5 separate regions of the Homo sapiens genome follow, and all the other regions are linked to region 4. The links are contacts of gene promoters, found by promoter capture Hi-C in blood cells and fetal thymus (Javierre and others, 2016). All regions are on one chromosome and are shown on one strand. Each heading gives the region's core, a stretch centred on a gene start or on the middle of the fragment in contact. The rest is flanking DNA. Distances are from core to core; before and after follow the strand shown.

Region 1 (2,700 bases), core at 194-2,693, 1.0 Mb after region 4:
CTACTAAAAATACCAAAAAAAAAAAAAAAAAAAAAAAGAGCCAGGCGTAGTGGCAGGCGCTTTTAGTCCCACCTACTCGGGAGGCTGAGGCAGGAGAATGACGTGAACCCGGAAGGCGGAGCTTGCAGTGAGCTGAGATCGCGCCACTGCACTCTAACCTGGGCGACAGAGCGAGACTCTGTCTCAAAAAAAAAAAAAAAAAAATAGATAACCAAGAATCTATAGATTGTAACTGATCATTGACTAAAGAAATGATACACATATCAAGAGTGCTAAGAAAGTTGAAGGAAAAAGAGAAAATATCCAACTAGGGTTTAGATGGAAAGCTTAAAAAGATTCCAGCAAAGAAACCACCACTTGAATGTAATATAATAATACAAGAACAGGCAGAGAACAAAAAAATGCACAGCTAATATTTACCCTACTTCTACTATGGGCATTAAGCCACATTAGGAGACTAAAGAAAATGTTATCTATTTATATTGACACATTTTCTTCCAAAAAGTTAAAATTATCAGTAAGTCCACTTAAATAATGGATTCACATTTAATATTGTTAATGATAACCCTTTCTTTAACTGTAAATTATGCTTTTTGCTTTGAATTAATGATAATATGCAGATATTGGTAAGACAAATTTTTAAATTTAATCTTTATCTCAATTTTCCAAATGTATATTGTAGTGTGTCGTTTGAAATATTTATGTATAAAGTATGTATAGATTATAATGATGAGCATAAATACTTAGAAATAAGTAAATATGCATATATTAGCATGTGTGTGCTAAAAAATATTTTACTGATAAATGGAGAATGATCATAATAATTTGGTTCTTTTTCCAAAGCAAAAGACATGCTTCTTTTCCCAACATTAGTCAAACCTCTCTTATCATTCAGCTCTTTCAGAAAGCTCAAACTTCTTAATACCTTGCTAGATTACAAGCGAATTGATTGCTGTCTATCACCATTTCGTAGGATATATGAGGTGTTCTTAAAGCCATGGCTCCTAAAGCCCTTCTCCCTAAAATGTTCATGACCTTAATTGGCCTACAGATAATTTATATTTTATACTATATTAACTATTTATTCGTGCTGTCTTATATCCTCCAAAGGTCTGTCCACAGACCTAACAATTCAGTCTGCAAAATGTTAGAGATGAAGAGCTGAGTCACTGGAGCTTTGTGGACAGTTATAGTTAATAATGAGAATTCACAAACACATGTACATTTTAATACCGATGAAGCTCTATAGTAGTTTGTTTCCTGCACAAGTCATTGCTTTCTCTTGTACAAATGCACAACTTTTCAGTTGGGCATAATTACAGAGGGAAGGGATCAACATGTGATGCATGTGATAGAAACTACCGCGCTATCATTTCCTGAACATCTATTTTATGTAACATAGTTAATGATGACAGTGAAATGGCAAAATATCCCTTTTTACTATGTGCAAGGTTGGAACTTCGTATCCATGTATTGTGTATGTTTAAAAGGACATGTGGTTGTCTGGGCACAGTGGCTCACGCCTGTAATCCCAGCACTTTGGGAGGCCCAGGCGGATCACGAGGTCAGGAGATCGAGACCATCCTGGCTAACACGGTGAAACCCCGTCTCTATTAAAAATACAAAAAATTAGTCAGGCATGGTGGCAGGCACCTGTAGTCCCAGCTACTTGGGAGGCTGAGGCAGGAGAATGGTGTGAACCCAGGAGGTGGAGCTTGCAGTGAGCTGAGATCACACCACTGCACTCCAGCCTGGGTGACAGAGGGAGACTCTGTCTCAAAAAAATAAACAGAAACAAAAACAAAAAAAAAGGACATGTGAACAGTGTTTCCAGGAGACTGAGGCAGAAGCTGTACCAGGGTAGTAGATCCCTCAGCTTGATCTGGGAAATGTAAAAATCTCAGGCACCACACGACATTTCCTGAACCAGAACCTCAAGAAGCAGGGCCCAGGAATCTGCATTTCAACAAGCTCTCAGATGATTCTTATGTACACTAAAGTTTGGGAAGCACTTCTCGAAAAGAAATAGTGATTTAGGTTGCCACTTCAGAATAGACATGAAATTTTTCAGAATTCTCCAGGAAACTATGTCAAAGGGTTCTTATGAGCCTCCATGACTCACTGATGCATTTTAAAGCTGAAAATGAGTTATTCACATACTATTTCACAGCAGTGAAGAATGACACTGATTTCTCAAATTGGTGGCAAATAAATCCAAATCAAACTGTATTTTGTGGAAATATATTTGATGAACAAATAAAATACAAAAATGGTTAAGTGTGAACCATGAAGAGAAGCAGATTAGTCTGTATTAATTACCACAGCTATGATAAAATAATGGGCTGGATAGTGATGCTTAACTAAAGCCACTTATGCTTTTGTTTTTCTCTCAAAGAAGAAAACCATACCTCTTCTGAGAAAAGTGAGTCCAGATACCAGATTTATAGGAGGGACAAGAAGGCCTTAGTAATGAGACATCTAAAAATTAAATCAATAGGAGTTAAATATTTTCAAAACTAATTTTGTCAGTACTTTTCATAAAAATACAAGCCCAAGCTTGTTTACGTGTGAATCAGGTTTAGCTTGTTAATTGGTATTTGGCATTTCTTTGTTCTTGAAACAGTATGATGCCTAGAGGAGGCTGTATGAGAGAGAGCAAGAGACAGAGGAGAGAAACAGCAGTGCTTAACAGCTTACTAA
Region 2 (2,700 bases), core at 182-2,681, 1.0 Mb before region 4:
GCCCCAGCTGCAGAGAGGGAGCTAAGTAGGGGGAGGGGGTGGGGGAGAAAAGGTGGGGAAGGGAGATAGAGAGGGAGGGGGGTCCGAGCCGCACGAAGTAACTTCTGCTCTTGGCACAGGGGGCTACTGCGCTCTGAGCCCCCTCGCCCCACAGATGTGGACACAGCCTCCTCTCCACCCAGCGTGAGGCGCATCAGAGGGTCTGCAGACATGGGAGGGAGGTCATCCCAGAGGGGAGGGATCAAGCCGGGACTCCACATCCAGGGCAGCCAGGCGTGAGAGGAAGCGGGAGACACACCAGGCCTCCAGGGGACACCGAGGCCACCAGTACTCCCCCAACCCTCCGCCTTCCGCGCGCGGAGCCAGGTGTAACACCGCGGGGAGCCGCGTCTACACTGCCGCGGGAGCTCCGAGACGCGACTAGAAATTTTCCTGTACCCCTTTTTCTTTCTTTTTTGCTAGGGTCGTGAGAAGAAGAGGCAAGGCGTTTGGTAAATCGAATTGATTGATGCCCAGAAGCATTTGCGGGTTGCAGAGCTCACACTTTAAAGGGGGCCTGGGCACCCGGCTTGAGGGTCACCCGAACACACTACCCACGCGGCGAGGCGAGCGTGGGGAACAATGGGCCCACCCGGGCCCCCACCCGGCGAACAATGGCGGCGCCGAGCCCGTCTTCGCCCCCCATCCCCACCCCCGCCACCCCCGCCCGGCCCGCCGCTCCCGGCCGCCTCTCCACCCGCCCGGGAGGGAACCATAGTGCGCGGGGCGAGGGGTCTCTGGTCAGGTCCACCCGAGAGGCCAGCCCCGCGGGAATGTCCGAGGGGGCGGCCTAAACACCTCCGCTGCGTCTGGGGCGTCGGGGCGCCCAGCTGCGGCGCGGAGCAGCAGGGAAGGCAGACGCCCCAGCCACTTACCCCGATCACCACGGTCTCATCGCCTTTAAATTTGGGGATGAATTTGTCCCCGCGGAGGATCTCCGCTTCGTTGAGGGGCCGGAACCGGCACATCACTTTGATGCTGCATTCGGCTGGATCCGCCATCTCGGCCGGCGGTAGGGAGGGGGCACGGGGATGGGTGGGGGGCCGGGGCCGGGAACGACGAGGGAGGAGGCCGCGAGCTGCACCGCCCACAGCTAGGCCGCCTCCTGCAGCCTCCGACGACGCTTCTCAGCAGGTCATCGCGAGCCCGGCCGGCTGAGCAGCCCCGGCCGCTCCGAGCCCGGGAAGGTGGGCAGCTTCTCCGCTCCGGCCCCTCCGGCTGCAGACCGGCCTGCCCTGGCCCTGCCCCGCCCCTGCCCAGCGCCCCCCGGCCCACCTGCCCGCGACCACGCGGCGGGCGGAGGAGGCGATGCGCAGGGAGCGAGCCTCGCCCGGCTCAGACCTCCCGGGCTCCTGCGCGCTCAGCCATCCTGCATCAGCACCAGCGCGCTCTGCCGCCTTGAGACCCGCCCCTCCGCCCCGCCCTCCCCTGGCCCGCCCCGGGACGGTGACGTCACCGTAGAGGTCCGCCCGGCCCCCGCCCGACTCCGAGCGCTGCGCATCCCGGGACTTGTAGTCACTCTACCTGCCGGGGGAAGGACAGGATGCGACCTCCAAGAGCCTGCAAGTCCGGTCTGGCTGCCCAAGCCGGAACCGGATGGAGGTCATATCCAATATTTCCGGTTAAAATCTCTAGATAACTGGGTCTGGATCATCCTGATCCCAAAAGAAAATCACTTGGGAAACAGCTCCCAATAGCCCCTGGGTTTCATCCTTCAACTTCTACCACTAGATAAGGATGGATGTCTGTTCAGAGTTTGGGTTTGATTGGCCTTGGTTTAGGTTGGCATCTAGTGCTAAACCAATCAACCAGAATCAGGGATTTTGTAAGATTATGGAGGAATCCCTTGGTGGGAAGGTTCCCAAAAGAAGAGGGATGGTATTCCCAGACATGGTGCCGGGCTGGCAGAACAACTGAGTGTCCACTCTATTTTTCCAGAACTTCCTTTTCCTCTAAGACCTAGCTCAACCCTCCTTCCTCAGACTTTCCCAGCTCACTAAACACCTATAAAGAGTTGGTGGCCCTCCTTGATGTTCCCCTAATCTGCTGTGCCTGTCTCTAGCACTGCACTTGGGTGGTGATATCTGCTTGATATCTTTGTGTCTGTAGCATCTAGCACATAGTGGGCAGCATACTGAATAAGGATTCTACCCTAGGAAGAAGCAATGCATGAGTGTGAATCCCACCTCAGCCACTTATTAGATGTATGACCAACAGGCGGAGGAAATTAAGAGCGGAGGAAATTAAGAAGTCTTAATTTCCTTAAGACTCAGTTTCCTCATCTCTGTCATTGGAATAATATCATCTTGTGATTTCTGGGGGAATTAAAAGACAGATGCTTTTAAAGCACCTAGCACGGTGCCTGACATGTATATAGGATAAGCTCTTGAAAGTTAGATGTTATTGGGTGCTGAACAAATGATCATAAAACAAATAAGTTAGTTAATTTTAGGAACACATCTGTTGCTTAAATTCGGGTAATACCTGAAAATACAAGTGTTCTCTGCCTAGCTGAGAGGACAGACCTACTAAAATCAACTTTTATAAACCCTTGTAAGTAGTACCAGTTCTATTTCATCTCCTCATGTGCAGTGGAAGTAGATTAAAAAGACCCAGGTGCCACCTTCTCATCTGTTTTTAAATTAAGTAATTCTCAGGCTC
Region 3 (2,700 bases), core at 199-2,698, 1.1 Mb after region 4:
ATTCCCTTATGATTGAACTGCTTGCAAAAGTTGATGACATGGTTGTCAAAGAATCACCTAGTTTATTGGGTTTAAACATTCAAGTGGGTCAATGTTTACAAGAATAACAATTTTAAAATGACTTCATACCAGTGCTTCTTAAATGTTAAAACGCATGAGAATTACCTGAGGAGCAACATAAAAATGAAGATTACTGGGGCTGACCTGTAGATATTCTGATTTTGTAGGTCAGAGTAAGGCACAGAGGTATGCTTATTTAATGAGCGTGAACCTCTAATGTCTCTCTACTACTACAGTATAGGTCGTCCATGGATCACGCTTTGCCTAACACTTATAAACCTTCATGTAGATCCATATTTTTAAATCAAAGGTATCTTTTGTATGCCTGATTCATACTATATAGTTATAGAAAGAGTATTAGTCCTTTGGTGTTAAGGCTGAGACTTTTATTTTATTTATTTTTTTCCTACAGAATGTGTTTATTCTAACAAATCATTTCTTGTCTTCCAAAATGTATACGGAAAAAAATAGCAAAACAATCTTTCCTAGCGGTGGTCGGCTCACTTTACAGATAACATTTTTGGGGAGATAGCACCCTCATGTGGTAATATGATGCTACAAATATTCTGCTGTTATATTGTATGTGTTGAGCAACCACAAGCTAATAGTTGCTGGTAACTTGTACCACCAACCCGTTGCATCATATTTCTAAAGAGCTTTTAGAGCAACTTTATTAAACCTAAAGAAGACATTCATGTGCAAAAATTAATACATTCCCACTGTATATTTTCATATTCCAATAACTGTGGCTTCCTTTATTGAGTCAAGAAACCTATATCAATGTTTCTGTTAAGTTATAATAAATGACTACACCAAATTAAGCTTCTGGGGACACAGAGCTCATCAGCACACAAACACAGCATTCTATTATTAGTCTAGTGGTTTTCCTGGACCGTGGGAATAATTTCATTATGCTCCAAAGTCATAAATATCAAGAATATTCTGAGATTTAGGGAAATTTTGAATAAACACTAAGTGATTCAGAACAACAATAAAAATAATTTTTCCCATAAATGAAACTGCCCTGAACTTGAGCATGAAGTCCTATGAATGAAAAACATTTCTGTAGAAGGCAGATATCCTGCTCACTTTACTGCTGTTTGGGGAATACCAGACCTTCTAAAAAACAGAAGCAATAACTCCAGCTGAAAGAATAACAGTAACCCTACTAGACAAAAGAATGTTGGAGTTAAATATGCACTCTTGATTAAAATGTACAATAATGTAAGGGAATAATTGTGAATGCTTACAGTGAAATTGATAAATCATTTAAAATAAAATGCTATTTCAGTGTCATAATTGGCCATGACTGTTATATAAGGAGGGGAGTTCACTTAACATATACCTCCCTTCTCCCAGTGTATACAGAAGTTAATCTGATTACACAGTGACTTCTCAAAAATTGTATCCTTCTTGGAAAAGTGTTACTTTGCTGTGGTTTTAAAAGCATTTGCGTTTGTTTTTTTCTATTGGATATTTTCTTTCTTTGACAAATGTCACTTACCCCATAGTTAAAGGTTTTTTTTAATAGTTATAATATAGATTTGCTTTTTATTAATACCATTTCAATATAAGCAAGAGGCATGTGCTCATTATAAATAATATAGTAACAATTAAAGAGAGAAAAGTATGTCACCTGTTAGAACCTCTCCTTCCCACACGTCCTTGGGATAATGGACAAGTGTGTGTGTTTGGTGTGTTTGAATTCAGTATTTTCATTCATGCGAAGAATATCTTTACAAATAATTACAATGTATATAGAGAAAATATATATGAATATATATACACGTTTATACTTGTAATCATATTGTATATATATATTTATATCTTTTGACATTGTACCAGGAAAATTTTTCTGTTAATCAAATGTTCAAAACTCTAGTATATGAATATATATAACAGTTGCTGGTATCTTGTACCACCGACCCGTTGGATCAAATTTCTAAAAAGCTTATATATACTCTAAAGAGTATATATATACTCATGTATATATGTACTCATGTAAATGTATAATACAAATGAAACTCATAATAATATATACACCCTATTAATAGTATATATATATATGCTCATGTAAGGATCAACATTTCTTTGGCCATGTTTTTAAAAATTTGGAGGTGCTTTCAGTGTTTTAATAGTAATAAATAGCTTAATAGTATTTATCACATGAATTATAATATTGATTATCATTATATCATGATTATCATCATAATCAGTGCTATAAATAACAAATCAAGAAAATAAGAAAGCCTAAGAAAACTATAATAATGAAGATAGTCATACAGAAGATTCATGAAGAATTTGAATAAGATAAAAGTTTATTGAGGATTTGAATCCAACAATACAAATGATTGATATCACCATGTATGAGAAAAAAACATTGATAATGACTAAGAACAAGAAAATCTACAGTTGATGGTATAAACTGAGAATTCTTTAGCTACACAGCATGTAGTTGACCTAAGGCAAGGCAATGACATTTTCAAATATATGAGGCTCAGGAGTTATACAGTCCGGACATTCTTCTAAAATTTTTACTTGACATAACTCAGCCAAAAGCAAAAATAAATAAATAAATAAAATTATTGAATTAATCAGTTTAATATGTGAGTTTATTTTATTTATTTATTATCTTTCCAT
Region 4 (2,700 bases), core at 178-2,677:
ACATTACAAAAGATTATATTTAAAGGGGGGTGGGGAAGACGGACACAAACACACAAACACACACACACACACCCCACAGAGGTACACAAAGAAGACTACCACCCTTTAATTTTCCTGTGGCAAACGAGATAAAGACATGGCCATGAAACCTGTCAATTCGCCCCCGTTTCCAAGAGTCCCCCGTAATTCTATGCCACAAGCTTGTAACTGAATATTAAATTTTACAATAAATAGATCCAATGAGACTTATTTAAAATGTTTCATCTATTGAACTAACTCTCCTGTTATGTACATCTGCACACCTTTCAGCTAGATGCTGTATTTATTTATAGAATTTCAAATACAAAAGACTAGATAGTTTTTCCAACCACTGGTTGCAACCATAGAACGTCCTCACAAAATCAAAATTTCCAATATAAAATGGCCCGTTTATTCCCCCAACCTTGAGCTAAAACCTATTTTATGAGTGTACTATATTTAACAAAAACAATTTCACATGGGTTGTTCTAAACCGAAAACAATGCTTCAATACAAAGCGTTTAAAATAAGTATTCCGTAGGTAAGCAAAATCTATGCCCCAAAAGAGCACACAAATGGTGGTTGAACGCCAGCACATTACCAATACCAAGCGGCATACCTCTTCTGCACTGGGTTATAGTTAATACTCCAACAACAACTACAACTATTTTTAACACTGCTGGACGCTGAAGTTGAAGAAAACGTGAGGGGAGACCCAGATTAAATTGCTGATAGGATGTATTGTTTCCCACAGCCAAAATTAAGCAGCAACTGGCTTGATCTATGTCGTGATATTCACCGGTGAAGCACTAATTAAACGATGACAAAAAGCAACCCTTGTTTTGGAGGAGCCCACACTAAATACTCCTTTCAGATCTCAACCTTTGCATAAATTGTCACTTGTGGTATTTGCGGCTTAATTGCAACCCAACCAGCGCTGTCATCCAGTGTTATGGCCACAAAACATGACTTTCTCACTTCCACAACAACACAGCACTCACTCTTATCAGCTCGCCGACCCAACTCAAAAAGAGAAAAATGCATGGAGGTTTCCAGATCACAATCAGACCTGGGGGCGGGGGGGGGGGGCGGTGGCAGCCGAGGGGCGCAGGGAGTGGGCAACCTCCCCAGGCTCCACTGGACTCTCCGACTCAACACCAGCCGCGGCCCCCAGCAGCGGCCGCCGCGGCCGCAGGAGCAGCCCCACCGCGCCGCGCTCCCTGCACCTACCTGAAGAACAGGAGATAAGAAAGACGGCAAACGCCAACTTTGCAGCAGCTCCCATTTTCCCGAGGCGCCGGGGAATCCGGAGGAAGTTCTCGCTAGATATCCAGTTCCCTGGGTCTTCCTCGGAGACAAACCTCCTGGTGTAAAATCAACCGTCATAAAACATATTCGGAAGCCCAGACCAAAAAAAAAAAAAAAAAAAAAAAAAAACGCTCACTGGGTTAAAAAAAAAAAAGAAAAAAAAGAGCACAACGATAAAAAATAAAATGCACCACGGGGGAAAAACCGCCACACACACGCACAACACACAAAACCAAACAACGAAAAGCCAACAACAACAAAAGCGGGTTTAAATCACTGTCAAAATCACTGTCAGCTCCGCTCGCCTCTCCCGTCTCTCGGAACAAAACGCCAGGCTGAGGCGACGAAGAGGCGGCGGCGGCAGCGGCGTCCGCTGCCGCCCGGACAGTCTGGGAACTGACTGGGTCCGATGTCCGGACCGACCTTCAACCCAGACACCTAAAGTCCGAGGACCACTGGCGGCCGAGCTCGCGGCGGTGGCGGCGAGGCGGCTGCGGCGCGGGGAAGGGGCGGCGGGCGGCAGCGGCGGCGGCGGTGCAGGCGGCGGCCAAGTTCTGGTCCAGGCTCTGGCTCCAGCTCCGGGCTCCGGGCTCGGCCGCGTTTTCGGTCTCCTGGCCTCCGCCGGGCTCCGCCCCCCAAACTTCCGGTTCCGGCCCGAAGCTGGAAGCCAGGCGCAGCGGAGGAACGCTCGGCGGCAGCGGCGGCGGCGGCGGCGGCGGCAGCGGCGGCCGGGCGCAGCGCGCGTGCCGGGCCGGGAGCGCGAGGAGATTGTCGGGGAAGCGAGGCGGGAGCGGGGGAGGGGTGAGAGAGCGAGGGCGGGGCGGAGTGGAGGGCGAGGAGGCGGGGCGGACGGAGGCTCGATACCGCGAGGCCTCGGCGTCCGGCCTGCTTGGGCTAGAGATACCGCGACAAAGGGGCGCGGGCGCCTCAAAGTCCCTAAGCTGTGGCTGGGCTGTGGCCGGGCGAGTAGATGCGGGCTAGGCCGGGCACGACCCGTTTCCAAATCGCGTCCGACGGGCCTGTCTGGAGCGCCCACCCAAAGGGTCAGGAGAAGCCCAAGAGGAAGAGGACCCCGAGGTGGGGCGAGTGGCCAGGGACTTCTCCAAGGGGCGTCTGCGGCGCCCAGTCTTTCCTCTGGGGGGACGCCTCGTCCGCTCTGATACCGAGGAGTCGGTGGAAGGCGGACGTGGGAGCTGTTTCGCCGCGCCCGCCGAGCTGCCCAGGCGAGCTCGCGACGCGCGAGCTGGTGTGTGCGCCCCCAGACTTAGCACTGCGTCCCACCGCTGCAGCTTCTGCACACGCGTGCTGTCTTGGTGACTAGAAAAGAAAAAGAAAAAACTCACGGAGGAAGGGCTGTCCACCCGCTCAGGATAT
Region 5 (2,700 bases), core at 120-2,619, 1.0 Mb after region 4:
AAAGGAATTTGGAAACATTATTTGTTGCCTCCTCAACATTATCCACTCACTCCTCCATATTCTCATTGTCCGATATCTTCTTTGCCAACTGAATACTGATTTTTTTCAATTCCTCAGGAAAGGCCCTTATCCTCAACTCTGGCTGTATATTCTGATAGTTTAAATCATCATAGTAATCTTTCCTTTGTTAGTGATTGGATTAGGGTAGTTAGTGGTTTGTAAACTTCAATGTATGTCAAAATTACTTGGAGAGCTTGTTAAAATACAGATTGTTGGACCCCACCGTGACCTTCTGATTCAGGAGGTGTCTTATGAGGTTGGAGATTTTGCATTCCTAACAAGTTCCTAGTGAAGGTGACAATGCTGGTAGGGACCATGATTTGAGAATCACTATTTTAGGGGTAGCTCTGTGACCAGTTGTGGCCAATGAGATGAGAGAAGTCTTCTGGGAATTGTTTCCTCATGATTCAAAGACAATACATTTTCTTATTACTTGAAATTATTTGTACCATATTCTTCTAAAGTAATCCTACTTGATGCAAGAGAATTAGAAGTTATTATCCAAGTTATTACTTGTAAGTCTTAGCTGCTCATGATATGATTGATTTGCTAATCTATATTTCATCATAGATTAGCAAATCCTGTGGCATATATGTTTACAAAATATTTAGCTTCTTTGTTAGAGGTAGCTATCGCATTAAAAGGCTATTATAAAAGTGTCTATCATAGGTAGCCAAAATAAATAGAATATATTACTTCGTCACAAAAGTCCTATTGTTAGGCTGTGCAGTATATTGGACACATGGTCTGAAATGTGCATCTCTAGACATCCAGCTTGTTTTGTGGGCTGTTAAAGGGTTTCGGCACTAGACGGTGAACATATTTTATTTAGTAGCTAAGTATTGCCGACCAAGGATTTCCAGGCAATCTGCAGGCATTTGAAAACATACATACTCAATATAGTTATTTTGAGGTTATTTTAATGAAAATATTGTAATCACATGGTTCACATGATCTATTCTTAAAATACATTAAGTATAGTAGTTGTATTTGAAACAAGAATCAAGGCAAACCTAAACTCATCCAGGAATGCTCATCATTTCAGCTGAATGAATACATGGCTTCAGATGCTGTTTAGTTTCTATGCAAGAAGTGCTGACCAGTGCTGCTCTTCCTGACTCTGCTAACACCAGTGTCAAGGTTTGCTTTGTACTTAGCTAAAATGTCACAATTTATATTTTTAATAACTAGCTATTTCATTTTAGAGTGTTCTTCACCTGTACTGAGTTGATGCAATGGAACATTTTTGTGTTATACCATTCAACCTCTAAAACAAACTCTACTCAAACTAAACTCAAAGGAGAAGTGCATGGCATCCTTTTAGGCTACTTGTAGCATGATTATTTTCTGCTCAATTAAATTTACCTCTGTTACCTTGGTAACCAAACTATTAGCTCGCTGCCAACATATTTTTATTCCTCCTTGTATTATTTTGGATATCTGCATTTTGTAGCTTCCCCATAAGGTTCTCAAGCCAAGTTTTTTATAAACTCAGGTCCTTCCTTGTCTATTGAACTTACATTATGTATCTCCTATCTTCCACTTAGAAAAGGAAACGGTAAATCTCTTTTGAATAATTTAAGCAACACTTTATTTAAAAAAATGTTTTTCATATTATTAAAATGGTCTCACTTTCCTGGTTTGTTTCCTTCATAGCTATCATTTCACAATTACTATTTGCCAGACACTATTTAAACACTTTTCAAATATTAACTAATTTAATTGTCATAACAAGCCTATGAAGTAATACTAGTATCCTTAATTTATCAATGAGGGAAATCAGAAACAAACATTATTTGAGTTGCCCAATTCAAACAGCTAGTAAGTGATAGAGGCAAGATTTGAACCCAAACATTAGTTTTAAACATCTGAGTTTATCAGTCTTACATAAATAGCAATTAGAAGTCCTCAAATAAACCAGTATTGTTAAGATAACAATTTACTGATTACATTTAGGTAGGTCTTTTGACTAATGCTAATCATAAAGGCCAATATTAGATGTGAATATAATCTGCTCCTGAAAAAGCATTGAATCTTACATTTTTTAAATGTGAAAATGTGAAAGTAATTTATTCCTAGTCCACCTCATAATCTTAAGCAATTCTCCAAATATCACTAAGATATACTTAGACACATTTATAACATCTACCAAGGATTTCTGCAGAATATAAAGCATGAAAAACACCAATTACCTAATTATATGATATTGAATGAACTCATATTTGGGCTTTGCAGTATGCAGCAATACTGAACAATAATAGATGTGAATTCTTTTTCTTCTGGAAATTCATGGAAATGAATAAAGTGTGATGTAAAACATGAATATGTTAGAGCTACATAATGAATGCAAATAACTCTTAGCAATAAAAAATAAGTAATAATGCAATTAACATTGGAACTTCCTAGTAGAAGAATTGCCTCAGTGGCATTTGGCAGCAAGAGAAAAGGCATACTTATCATAATATGGAGTAAAGATGATAACACATCCTAATATATAGTGTATTTAAACAAGACAAGCACAAGATGTGATCCTATCAGAATACCTGAGATATGACTATCTGCTACTAAACATTTTCTCCCTTGGTCTCCTGTGTGACTTAAATGTTTCCCTGGTGTATGCATAAACATTTCAATTAGAGT

What was found. Contacts are between HindIII fragments. The CHiCAGO score rates a contact against its expected background, and 5 or more counts as called.
Region 1: a contact is called between a fragment that was not itself captured here and the fragment with the promoter of ACVR2A in region 4, in 1 of 17 cell types (endothelial precursors). The highest score is 6.0, in endothelial precursors.
Region 2: a contact is called between the fragment with the promoter of KIF5C here and the fragment with the promoter of ACVR2A in region 4, in 3 of 17 cell types (total B cells, naive B cells and activated CD4 T cells). The highest score is 10.4, in total B cells.
Region 3: a fragment that was not itself captured here is called in contact with the fragment with the promoter of ACVR2A in region 4 in 1 of 17 cell types (endothelial precursors); the score reaches 9.2 in endothelial precursors.
Region 5: a contact is called between a fragment that was not itself captured here and the fragment with the promoter of ACVR2A in region 4, in 1 of 17 cell types (endothelial precursors). The highest score is 6.9, in endothelial precursors.

The regions. Positions count from the first base shown.
Region 1 is chr2:146,817,749-146,820,448 of GRCh38, reverse strand. No RefSeq gene overlaps it. Among named protein-coding and RNA genes, the nearest start is that of LINC01911, 19 kb to the left of the region's middle. The HindIII fragment of the contact is 2,230 bases long and covers 329-2,558 here.
Region 2 is chr2:148,873,958-148,876,657 of GRCh38, reverse strand. It overlaps KIF5C (kinesin family member 5C), which reads right to left and starts at 1,431. Exons shown (of 26, transcript NM_004522.3): 1 at 915-1,431. The coding sequence starts at 1,040. KIF5C-AS1 (KIF5C antisense RNA 1) reads left to right here. Exons shown (of 4, transcript XR_001739733.2): 4 at 463-2,700. RefSeq lists enhancers at 1-186, 187-765 and a silencer at 1,138-1,607. The HindIII fragment of the contact is 10,493 bases long and covers 1-2,700 here.
Region 3 is chr2:146,732,158-146,734,857 of GRCh38, reverse strand. No RefSeq gene overlaps it. Among named protein-coding and RNA genes, the nearest start is that of LINC01911, 100 kb to the left of the region's middle. The HindIII fragment of the contact is 1,128 bases long and covers 885-2,012 here.
Region 4 is chr2:147,843,756-147,846,455 of GRCh38, reverse strand. It overlaps ACVR2A (activin A receptor type 2A), which reads right to left and starts at 1,427. Exons shown (of 11, transcript NM_001616.5): 1 at 1,249-1,427. The coding sequence starts at 1,303. RefSeq lists silencers at 986-1,065, 1,821-1,930, 2,011-2,200 and an enhancer at 2,327-2,700. The HindIII fragment of the contact is 3,923 bases long and covers 203-2,700 here.
Region 5 is chr2:146,796,857-146,799,556 of GRCh38, reverse strand. No RefSeq gene overlaps it. Among named protein-coding and RNA genes, the nearest start is that of LINC01911, 39 kb to the left of the region's middle. The HindIII fragment of the contact is 2,808 bases long and covers 1-2,700 here.